Regions from separate parts of the Homo sapiens genome. Here region 1 is linked to region 2. Evidence: promoter capture Hi-C in 16 types of primary human blood cells and fetal thymus (Javierre and others, 2016). All regions are on one chromosome and are shown on one strand. The core of a region is centred on a gene start or on the middle of the fragment in contact, and the rest is flanking DNA. Distances in the headings are between cores, read along the strand shown.

What was found. The method cuts DNA at HindIII sites, captures the fragments that hold promoters and counts their contacts. A CHiCAGO score of 5 or more calls a contact.
Region 1: a contact is called between a fragment that was not itself captured here and the fragment with the promoter of RNASE11 in region 2, in 1 of 17 cell types (M2 macrophages). The highest score is 5.9, in M2 macrophages.

The regions. Positions count from the first base shown.
Region 1 is chr14:20,521,666-20,528,156 of GRCh38, reverse strand. It overlaps the pseudogene PTCD2P1 and the pseudogene SETP1. Among named protein-coding and RNA genes, the nearest start is that of RNASE10, 19 kb to the right of the region's middle. RefSeq lists a silencer at 813-1,023. The HindIII fragment of the contact is 9,274 bases long and covers 1-6,491 here.
Region 2 is chr14:20,586,167-20,592,195 of GRCh38, reverse strand. It overlaps RNASE11 (ribonuclease A family member 11 (inactive)), which reads left to right and starts at 4,195. Exons shown (of 3, transcript NM_001394190.1): 1 at 4,195-4,336; 2 at 4,571-4,633. RNASE11-AS1 (RNASE11 and RNASE12 antisense RNA 1) reads right to left here and starts at 3,972. Exons shown (of 5, transcript NR_122043.1): 1 at 3,878-3,972; 2 at 1,468-1,759. RNASE12 (ribonuclease A family member 12 (inactive)) reads left to right here and starts at 820. Exons shown (of 2, transcript NM_001024822.4): 1 at 820-937; 2 at 1,435-2,123. The coding sequence starts at 1,473. The coding sequence ends at 1,916. The HindIII fragment of the contact is 10,143 bases long and covers 1-6,029 here.

The DNA of each region.
Region 1 (6,491 bases), core at 1,626-4,125, 63 kb after region 2:
GTGATGAAGGGCAGGAAGGAGAGGAGGATGAAGGAGAAGATGACTAATAGAACACTGATGGATTCCAACCTTCCTTTTAAAGAAATTTTCTCCAGTTCCTGGGAGCAAGTTGCAGTCTTTCCCCCGCCCCACCCCGCTTCTTGTGCTCAGTAACCCTGTTCTCGTGGTCCCTTTTCTCTACACCATGGTTTTCAACTTATTTGGGAGGGAAATACCTTGAGCAGAATACAATGGGAAAAGAGCCTCTATCCTCTTTCTATTCTTAATTCATTTTTATCCCTTCCTGTCTGAGCAAAAACTGTATGGAATCAACACCACTGAGCTCTGTGGGGAAAAAAAAAAACCTGCTCCCTTTGCTCTGCTGGAAGCTGGAGGGTGTGAGGGCCCTGTGTGGCAGTGCGGAGAATTCTAGCTTCTTTCCTACTTTCTCTATATATTGAGCTCAGAGAGTACACTGTGCCTGTATGTGAATAAAGACAGTTAGCATTTACCAACATGTATCTGTCTACTGTCTTTTGTTTAAAAAAAGGAAAAAAACAGTTCTAAAAAATGGGGTTTTAGAAGGTCAGCAAAGGGTGGCTTTGACATGTTTGGCCGGGTTAAGTGGGCATTTTGACAACATGGCTTCTCCTTGGGATGTTTGTGATGTTTGACAGATATCCTTGCAGTTTAAGATGACACTTTAAAAATAAATTCTCTCCTAATGATGACCTGAGCCCTGCCACTCAATGGGAGAATCAGCAGAACCTGTAGGATCTTATTTGGAATTGACATTCTCGATTGTAATTTTGTTCCTGTTTATTTTTAAATTTTGTTTTCGTTTCACTGGAAAGAAAAGATGATGCTCAGTTTTAAACGTTAAAAGTGCACAAGTTGCTTTGTTACAATAAGACTAAATATGTACACAAAAAAATTAAAAACTAAAAATAAAATAATATAGGTTGGGCACAGTGGCTCACATCTGTAATCCCAGCACTTTGAGAGGCTGAGCGGGGAGGATCGCTTGAGCGCAGGAGTTTGACCAGTGTGGGCAACATGGCGAAACCATGTCTCCACAGAAAAATACAAAAAATAGCCTGGAGTGGTGGCACATGACTATAGTCCCAGCTACTTGGGAGGATGAGGTGAGAGGATCACTTGAGCTGGGGAAGTAGAGGTTGCAGTGAGCTGAGATCTCACTACTGTACTCCAGCCTGGATGACAGAGTGAAACCCTGTCTCAAAAATAAATAAAGAAAGAAAGAATATAAATATTTTGTATCAATTTTCAGCTTTTACAGTCAATGAACTTAAGTCTTAATTTTGGTTACAGAATTAAATATTAATATTAACAATCAAGGCAATGTAAAAGTAAAGTACAGTTGACTGAAGCTGGGACACAGACGAAAAGAGAGTGAATGAAAAGAAGGATACTAATATTCTTATTTTACAAAATAGGAACTCAGAATACCCAGTGCCTATCTGAAAAAGATACTAAAATGATTAGCATAGTATTAAGTTAGAAAGGTAAACAAGAGAACTGAAATATAGCTATATTAGGAAGAGGGGAGGGAGGTGGAGTTGAGCTAAACCTTAATATGTTGTAAAGTCAATAGACCTTTGATGGATTAGTGAGTACAGGACACCTTTCCTAGTAGAGGACACCATTAGAGGGAATTCGTTTGAGGGAAAACAGCCTGCAAATTATTTATTTATTTATTTGAGATGGAGTCTTCCTCTGTCACCCAAGCTGGAGTGCAGTGGCACGATCTCAGCTCACTGCAACCTCTGCCTCCCAGGTTCAAGGAATTCTCCTGCCTCAGCTCCCAAGTAGCTGGGATTACAGGCGCCCACCACCATGCCCAGGTAATTTTTGTATTTTTAGTAGAGACAGGGTGTCACCATGTTGGCCAGGCTGGTCTTGAACTCCTGACCTCATGATACACCTGCCTCAGCCTCCCAAAGTGCTGGATTATAGGCATGAGCTACCATGCCCAGCCCAAATTACTTACGATTGGAAATCACCTTAATGTGACAAAAGAGGGAATACTTAAATAAATCACATTACATTAATAGAATAAAATATATCGAGTAAAACTTTTTAATGACTACTCAACAATATGGAAAATTCTATTATATAATAGAATTTTCAAAAGATATAAGTCCTCTTTCCCTAACCTTCCCTTTCTAAACCATTTAGTCCTAAAGCCACCAGGTGGGGCAGAACAAGGTCATAGACATTGATGAGGAGGGGCCATCTGGCACAGGAATAAGAACTCAGAACCCAAGAGAGATGAAAAGGTGTCCCTGGTGAGGGATGTCTGAGGGGGCTGAGAGGGGAACACAGCCTGCAGAATCACAGCCTGAGCAAGTGGAGGAGATGTCCACTCAGAGGGGTTGCCTAGTGTGAGATATCCAGGCCCAAATGGTGGACACCCATGTAGAGGGGCAGCCCTGGCACAGAGTGTCAGAGCCAGAGTGGGCAAAGGGCATCCATATGGGAGGGGGAATGGCGGCAGCAAGGTGAGATTGGTTACATACATGAAGATGCATGCAATAAGCAACTATATTAAAGAATATGGGAGAAGAAATTTATAAGTCAAAAAGTTATAAATAAGAAAATTAAGATATAAATATGGGAAGAGAAAACCTAATATGAGCTTGTGGGGTTGGATTTGAATTGAGGTATTGGTATAAACGTATGGTTTTCAATATAGTTACATAAAGAAAATACATGTGAGAACTTACATGTTACATAAAGAAAATACATGTGCTGCACTTAGGCCCTCGAATCGAGTTCTCCTGCAGGTTGCTGCAGATTTCGGTGTATCCTGGGGTGGGAGCCTCCAGCTTTGCCTGTGGCTGCTGTCCTTTCAGAGCTAACAGATACCTACTTACAGATAGTATTGTGAAATTAAAAGAATTTCAGCACAAGAAGGTGGCTGTTGCATGTAATCTTTCCTAAAGAAACCTATTTTAGGAATTTGGAAGAGAAACTGACAAGCTCATCTTGAAGGGGGAGTTGATAACCTTACTTTATTTTTGTGGGTCCCAGGACCATGTGGAGCTGGCTACAAATGTCATTTACAGGTACCATGCAGGGAACAGAAATATCACTTTGGGGGAGTATAGGTTTGGACCACTTTTCATGAGTCTGTTATGGGTTGGATCTTGAGGGGCTCATGAAAGACCAGCATTTATGAGATTCCTTCTCAGATTCCACATCATTCAATATTTTGATGGATATGTTATTTATCAAAGGCAAATATAAAAGTGCTTTGGAAGTATTGATAGAGATGAAAAATCAAGCTGTGAAATTCACCAAATATCCTATGTTCTTAGTTTTGCAGTTTGCAACAAACTGAAGAGCGCTGAGTCTTTCAAAATCTGTTCTGCATTAACAGAAGAAGCCCCACTCAAAGGAGAGGTTCCCTCCAGGAGAGCATCCCGTTTCTTTGTGGCGTTAGCTCTGAATCAGAACCAAGTGGCAAAAGCTATGTCCATTTTTTTCTCAAACCATGAATCCAGAAAGCATAGCCTGCACTAACTTAACTATTATAATCCATATCCAGTCAAATATGTTGGAAACCCTGATAGAGACACTAAAAAAATGCTGCAGAAGGAAATTTATTAAAATTTGTGAAAAGACATGCATTCTCAGAGGAAGTGCTGGCAAAAGTGAAGGAAAAGTGAAGGATATGCCTGCCCTTGTGGCCAGATTTAATGAGATCTATGGAAAACTGCACATCAGTGGCCAGGTCACCACTTGTACTTTGGGTACTCTGCTCTGCCACACCCCCAGGGACAGGAAATCCCATATGTTGCTATTAAACAAGAGGATGATGAGCCATTGGACCTTCCAGCCACTCAACCGGTCCTTTTTGGCTGAGTAATAATCCTCATTTCATCCACCTGTGGATCTGAAGGGCCTGCTTCTAGTGAGTTGTTGCCTTCCCTAAGAAGCAGGCATTGCACTTCAGTAGACGCTGTGCTGACACTTAGCCTCCTCTTGAAATTCCCAAGTTCACTGAATGGTGGCATGTTGATCTCTGAGAAGTTATGTTGCACTACTGTGAAGGTCTACATGCAAGCATGGTTCCCTCAGAAAGGAGCTTCCCTTGTACACTGCTGAGGATACCTGAAGGAACATGGTCAGTCTCCAGTCCAGCTTCCAGCACCAGAATGGAATCCAGCAAGCACCACAGGAATGAATTTCACTACAAGTGTGGTCACTCTGATTTTCAAGGGAGTAGTTACTTGTAAATTACATCCTTGCTGAATTCAAGAGGTCTGAAACCCTATTCTATCATGTTAGAAAATAGCCCAGGATTTCCTCACTGATCTGCCATCATATATTTCTATGACTTGAGCCCTCATTTTTCCATATGCAAAACAATAATGCCTATGCGTATTTGCATATAGATTTGAAATCTTCATGCAAAGTTCAGTAGGATCAGATTTTCTCAAAAATAAGAGAAATAAAAAAGGTTTGTAAGCAAAAATTAAAAAAACGAAAGAAAGAAAAAAGAGAAAATACATGCAAATACATGTGAGTGTGAGTGTGATTGGCTATTTGCCATATTCCCACCTATGTCCACTGAGACAGCCTTAGAGCTCTCTCACCCCAACAGCAATGAGCACCTACCTAGCACCCAGATCCAGGTTTCAAAATACTGTTCGTCACTAAACACAACCAGGTCATCTTAGAAAAATGACTGGTTCCAGGGGAAGGAAAATATAAAATGAGCTTGGACCATCTTGTAGTTTCTAAAAGCAAGGAACTGCCTAAATAATGATGGGGAGGCTGGGCATGGTGGCTCATGCCTGTAATCTCAGAACTTTGGGAGGCCGAGGCAGGAGGACCCCTTGAGCCCAGGAGTTCAGAGACCGGCCTGTGCAACATAGTGAGACACTATCTCTACAAAAAATGAAAAAGAAAGAAAGAAGAAAGAAAGAGAAAGAAAGAAAGGAAGGAAGGAAGAAAGAAAGAAAGAAAGAAAGAAAGAAAGAAAGAAAGAAAGAAAGAAAGAAAGAAAGAAAGAAAGAAAAGAACAAACATTAGCTGGGCATGGTCATGCACACCTGTAGTCTCAGCTACTCAGGAGGTTGAGGTAGGAGCATTGCTTGAGCCCAGGAGTTTGAAAGCAGTGAGCCATGATCACACCCCTGCACTCCAGCTTGGACAACAGAGCAAAGAAAAGAAGAAGAAGAGAGAAAGAAGAAGAAAAAGAGGAGGAAGAGGAAGAAGAAGAGGAAGAAGAAGAAGAAGAAGAAGAGGAGGAGGAGGAGGAGGAGAAAGAATAGGGATACATCAAAAACACACAGAAGCCCTATTAAAATAGCTTCCACTGGCTAATCTGGGACAACTTATAACTCATTGAATAAAACAAGAAACCATGAATCCATACTGATATAAATAAATGAATGCATTTAAAATATAAGGATTTAAATACCTACACAGTTTTCTTCTTCTTCTTCTTCTTCTTCTTATTCTTCTTCTTCTTCTTCTTCTTCTCCTTCTCCTTCTCTTTCCTCTTCCCCTTCCCCTTCCACTTCCCCTTCTCCTCCCTCCTCCCTCCTCCCTCCTCCCTCCTCCTCCTTCTCCTTCTTCTTTTTGAGATGGAGTCTTGCTCTGTCAACCAGCTTGGAATGCAGTGAGGCAATCTCACCTTACAGCAACCTCAGCCTCCCAAGTTCAAGTGATTCTCCTGCCTTAGCATCTTGAGTAACTGCAACTACAGGCAACTGCCATCACACCCAGCTAATATTTATAATTTTAGTAGAGATGAGGTTTTGCCATGTTGGCCAGGCTGGTCTCGAACTCCTGATCTCAGGTGATCTTCACCCTCCACCAACCCCCCAGCCTCCCAAAGTGCTGGGATTACAGGCCTGAGCCAACCGGACCCAGCTGAAATACTTACATAGTTTAAAAATGCATCCACTACAAAATACTTAGTAGTTACAAAGAAAAAAATAATAACTTCAGTAGAGAAGGCTGGCAGATTTCATTTTAATCAGGTGAACAAAGTAAACATCATCAATAATGGTTTAAATTGAAATTGAATTGAAACTTAGAGGATGCAGTGGGAAGAACATGCACCATTTTTGTGACATCTCTGCCAAAGATGGAGAATCTAAATCTAATCAGGACAAACCCACATGGAGAAACATTCTACAAAATAACTGGACTGGAATCTTCAAAAGAGTCAAAGTCTAAGAAAGCCTGCGGAATTGTATTACAACAAATGAGAATAAAGAGACATGACTACTAAATGAAACACATGATTCTGATTGGATCTTTTTGCTCTAAAGAACATTATTGAGACAAATGGTAAAATTTGAGTAGAGTCTGAGTTAGATGGTAGCATAATGTGAATGTTAACGTTAATGTCCTGATTTTGATAGCTGTATATGAGAATATCCTTGTTACAAGAAAGGCACACCAAAGTATTCAGGAATGGAGGCGCATTCATTAACTTACTCTCAAATGGTTCTGGAAAAAAAAAAAGAGTT
Region 2 (6,029 bases), core at 2,946-5,445:
CTGTCGCTCCAAAAGAGAAATGACTTCAGGGCATGAAGTAGTAAAACTAAGTCCATTTGCCCGTTCCTATATCAACTAACTGGGAGATGATAGCAACAAAAATAATTCTCTGGTCTCAATACTTTGAACCACTGTGTTTTAGCTAAGCCTTTATCCACTAATCTCCCATGTGGGTTTCCCATGTATACCATGGTTCAGTGGTTCCCCTTATAACTTTTGCTATATATTAGAATCACGTGGGGATCCTTTAAGAATCCCCAACCCAGATCGCACACAATATCAGTTAAAGCAGAATGTATCAAGGTGGAAGCCAATACTTTTTTAAATCTCCCGTTGATTCCAACGTTCAGCAGTTTGGGAACTGTCTCCATACTCCTCAGAAGCCCAGGGCTTTATCAAGATTAACGTTATTACAAGGGAATTGTTTTTGTCCTGTGCTGGACGCCGGGTGGAAATGAAACTCGCTAAAACTGGAATTCGAGTGTTTGGCACTGAAAGGATGGGACTCTTGCTTTCCTTCTCACTTCCCATCTCCACCTTAACCTTTTCTACAACTCATTTATTTGTCAATGAAATGAAAAATTTCATGTATTTGTCATAAGGACTGATTGAAAATTTAGAAAGGAGACAGTACTGTGGCTGGCACACATTGGCCTTCACTAAATGTTCTGAAAAGTCCTCACTTGTTTAATGAGGACACATTCAGGACCTGCCTTACCCGACTGTCCTGCTGGAGGTAACTTCTCTTCCTCCCCAGCGGTGCCCAAGCACACCCTGTGCGGGTCCCTCCTTTCTGCTCTTTCTACTTTGGCCCTCCCCACATTCAACAACAGGCTCTCTATCAGTTATTGTCAGGGAACAGCAAGACACAAGCGATTTTGTCAAATTCATGATCAAAAGGCTATGTTACCTGTGACAGTGACCAGAAAAATGACAGGTGAGAGGAGCTAGCACAGAGCCAAGCAGGATTGACAGAGGGAGGGACTTGGAAGGAATTGGGAAGAATAGATGAGTAGAAGGTACTAAAATCATGTGCAATTGGGTGGATTTAAGGTTGAGAAAATTACGGGAAAGAAGGTTATTCAGCAATATGAATAACCTTGACCACTTTCTATATGTCTAGCTCTGTGTTGAGCACTTCGAAGGATTTGAGAAATAGGAGATGTGGTATCTGCTGTCAAAGAACTTGTAGAACAAAACAAACACAACAGGAATAATTTAGAGAACAGCTCAGTACCAAACTCTGAGAGCTGGCATGTTCAGAAAAGGCTTTCTTGGGGAACTATGCCTCCAGCTGGATCTTGCAAGGTCAGTGTGATTTTAATTAGTGGAGAGAAGGAAATAAAATATTCCAAGGATGGGGGAGCAGCCAGGGGTTGGAGCAGGAGGAATCTGACTGTCCTTTGCTACTTTCTATCTTCCCTTACTCAACAGCAGTCAAAGCCAAAGATGCGAAGTCACTCTTACCTCTGATGATAATAATGGTGATAATTTTCTTGGTGCTTCTGTTCTGGGAAAATGAGGTGAATGATGAAGCAGTGATGTCAACTTTAGAACACTTGCATGTGGACTACCCTCAGAATGACGTTCCCGTTCCTGCAAGGTACTGCAACCACATGATCATACAAAGAGTTATCAGGGAACCTGACCACACTTGTAAAAAGGAGCATGTCTTCATCCATGAGAGGCCTCGAAAAATCAATGGTATTTGCATTTCTCCCAAGAAGGTTGCTTGCCAAAACCTTTCGGCCATTTTCTGCTTTCAGAGTGAGACAAAGTTCAAAATGACAGTCTGTCAGCTCATTGAAGGCACAAGATACCCTGCCTGCAGGTACCACTATTCCCCCACAGAGGGGTTTGTTCTTGTCACTTGTGATGACTTGAGGCCAGATAGTTTCCTTGGCTATGTTAAATAACTCAAGATCAGCTCCCGAGTCTGAGATCTCTTCTCTCAATGGCATTGGAGCTGGCTGTGCCTGAGGCAGACCTGGACCGTGGACATGGGGCAATGCCTTGAGCGGAAGGGGAAGCCACTGGTAATTAATTTATCCTTCCTGTATTGCTGGGTTGGGATTGTTTTATTCTGCTTCAATAAAATAATCTTTACTGAATTAAACCATAAATTCTACATGTGTTTCCATTTTTTGTCCCTTATCTCTAGGTCCTTTGATGAGAAACAGGACTGAGATTAAGATAAAGGGAATGAGCCACTCACTTGAGGTGCAAAACTTAAGAGGGCACCAGAAGACCAAAAACCTAGTAACCTAGATGAATATATTTGATTTCAGTGTTTCCTTTTTCTTTTTTTGAGACGGAGTTTTGCTCTTGTTATCCAGGCTGGGGTGCAATGGCACGATCTCGGCTCACTGCAACCTCTGCTTCCCGGGTTCAAGTGATTCTCCTTCCTCAGCCTCCCAAGTAGCTGGGATTACAGGCATGTGCCACCGCGCCCGGCTGATTTTTGTATTTTTAGTAGAGATGAGGTTTCTCCATGTTGGTCAGGCTGGTCTCAAACTCCTGACCTCAGGTGATCTGCCCACCTCAGCCTCTCAAAGTGCTGGGATAACAGGCGTGAGCCACTGTACCTGGCCTTGATTTCAGTATTTTAAAACAATCAAAATTAATGCAAAAATCTTGGATGCTCGCCGGGCGCGGTGGCTCACGCCTGTAATCCCACCACTTTGGGAGGCCGAGGCGGGTGGATCACGAGGCCAGGAGATCGAGACCATCCTGGCTAACACGGTGAAACCCTGTCTCTACTAAAAATACAAAAAATTAGCCGGGCGTGGTGGCGGGCGCCTATAGTCCCAGCTACTCCGGAGGCTGAGGCAAGAGAATGGCGTGAACCCAGGAGGCGGAGTTGCAGTGAGCCGAGATCGCGCCACTGCACTCCAGCCGGGGCGGCAGAGTGAGACTCCGTCTCAAAAAAAAAAAAAAAGAAATCTTGGATGCTCAAAATATCTATCACAAAATTTTGAAGATCCAATCTGACAAGGCTAGGATCAGGGTAAGATGAGTTATGTGAGAAACGTAGTGCAGGGCCAGATCCTGGTATTTAAAATTTTAACATTTGTTCATCAGGGATTATTTTGCATTAAATTTATTTTCTGGCCAGGCGTGGTGGCTCATGCCTGTAATCCCAGCACTTTGGGAGGCTGAGGCAGGTGGAACACTTGAGGTCAGGAGTTTGAGATCAGCCTGGCCAACATGGTGAAACCTCCTCTCCACTAAAAATACAAAAGTTAGTTGGGTGTGGTGGTGCACGCCTGTAATCCCAGCTGCTTGGGAAGCTGACACAGGAGGAGCGCTTGAACCTGGGAGGTGGAGGTTGCAGTGAGCCGAGATCATGCCATTGCACTCCAGCCTGGGCAACAGAGCAAGACTCTGTCTCAAAAATAAATAAATAAATATTTTCTAAAATTGTTGCATTAAAATATTATTTATCTTGATTATTGAGTTTTGTGGCACTCTCTTAAATTTTGGTCTTAGAGTGAGTGTCTCATTAACCTCAGCCTAATCCTAGCTCTGCTTCTAGCTGTAGAAGCAACAGAGGTCACCTCTTAGGGTCTTTTTTAAAGATAGCATATACAACTCAGGCAGCATCTGTTCCTGTTCAGCAGCTCCCTTTGTGTCTTGAAATAAAGAAAGGAGCCTGACTGGTCTGAAACCATTTCCCTTAAAGACTTTAGAGAGACACAGATAAGGATTTCCCAGGGAGGGATTGAGACTTTCAGAGCTCAGTGACCTCCTCTTTGTGTCTCCAGAAGGAACAGAGAGGACTTTGAGCCGGACTACTAACTCTTTTCTCTTTTTAGTTCTTACAATTGGACTTACTGCTTAGTTTCCCCACATTCAGCTATGGGCATAGTATCCTTACAGCTAGAAGGAGAAGGACGAGAAAGAGAGATTTCTAATTCTGGGGATTTCATGAAGTCCTCTTCTTCTCTATTCATTAGTTTCCTTGTCTGTAAAGTGAGGATCTTGAATTAGATAATCTTTCAAGTTCTTTCCAAGTCTATTAGTCTATAATTCTATTTCTTAAGTAGTACAGAAAATGGCTATATTATAGCCATTGTTGGAGGGGAGAATTTGTATTGTGAGGTAGTAAGAAATAAGGGGCAATTGGCAAATAAAGGCCAGATTATGTTGTCACTAATTCTGAGCTATGGCATTTCAATCCTGTATGTGAGAGCTAGAGACTCATACAGTGACCTAGAGCAGGCATGGGTGGGTCACAGGCTTTGGAGAGCACTCTCTGTCCTGATCTTTTCAGTTGAGAGACTTCAGCTGTTCATTGCTCATTTGGACTTAGTTCAAGGTCATGTCAAAGAAGAAGGTGCACTTACGCTAGTTGTTAGCTCTGTCTTTTGTAACCATCAAGTTCCATGCGATTGATCAGATTTAGGAGGGGGCGTTGGGGGATAATCGTAAGTGAAGGACAGTTTGCAACCTTGTGAGTAGGCAACGCTTACTCATCTCATGGCTTCTTCCATCTTAGGTGGCCGTTTTTCAGCTGAGTTTCATTTTCTAGTTCTCTGTGGTAATTCTGTTGTCATTGTTGTCTCCATAGAATTTTGGGTGTCACCAGGTAAACAGAGCCCTCAGCATCTGAATAGAAACTGAACAGGAACAGGTAGGTGGTCCCTAGCACATGATTTGTTGGGCCTTGGTAGCATCATTTTTTGGGCAAAACTTTGAAGTGGATGAAATGCATCCTTTAGGTTCCTACATCTATTTTCTGAATTCTGATTCCTTTTTCTATCCCTCTCCCTAGGTTTTGTTGTCTTTTCTTTCCTTTTCAGTGCTTTTTCTCCCCTTCTTCACCGAAGCTCCTCCTTTCTAATTAAAAATATCTTGCAGATAAAAGTATAACTGAGATGAACCAATAGGATGTATCCTCAGAGTAATTTCATTCAATAGGGATCAACACCAAATTCAAATGAATTGTGACATTTTAGACATTCGTAGTTTGGGTGTGTGTGTATCTATATCTATCTATCTGTATCTAAATATGTATATACATATATATTATACAGATATATAGGATCAGAGTCTCATTCTGTTGCCCAGGATGGAGTGCAGTTGTGTGATCACAGCTCACTGCAGTCTCAGACTTTTGGGCTCAAGAAATCCTCTCCTCTCAGCCTCCCGAGTGGCTGGGACTATAGGCATATGCCACCACAACTGGCTTTTTGTTGTTGTTGTTGTTGTAGAGATGGATTCTCACTATGTTGCCTAGGCTGGTCTTGAACTTCTGGCCTCAAGTGATCCTCCCGCATTGGCCTCCCAAAGCAATGAGACCACAGGCATGAGTGACTGTGCCCAGCCAGGTATATTTTTTTAAAGGGCACCTCTTAGCAGTTTCAAATAAAACCTAGGCAGCTGTGAATGCTGCCCACTTGAAATATATGTCTCAGAAAGACTGGAAATTTCTGCCCTGCTCTTCTTCCTGTTTATCTTTCTCCTCCTGGTCTTTCTGTTTCCCTATTGTCACCTCACTACTGATGTCAATGGTATAGGATATAGAAGTTTAGGAAACAAAATAAATTCCCTATAAATCCCTCATCCTTTCTGCCTTCAAAATGTATCAGGTCTTTGGTCAAGGCATCCTTGGACACACACCTGGACACATATACTTAATTCTTAATAATCTATCAATAATCCATCAACCCAATTAAGGCTTATGTATTCTTGGTGCTAGGTTTTTCCTCTAGTTTCTCACACAGACATTTTAAATTCAAATATAATTTTTTAAAAGTTCATACATAATAACATCAAATGAGTGGTATAAGAAGGGAATGATAAGAAGTTCAGAGAAGTTGGAAATGGATTTAGTAGACTTAAGCGGTGATGAAACATGTAAAATAAAGAATGAGATCTGAACTGGGCTTTGAAGGATTTCAAGAGGCAGGAAAGAATAGCCATTCAAGAAAGAAGCTAAGTGGGAGAGATGGCATAGGGTATATTAAAAAAAGAGTCACACTGATTGACTAGGGCAGGTTTGTGTAGCAAAATAATGGGAGATAAAT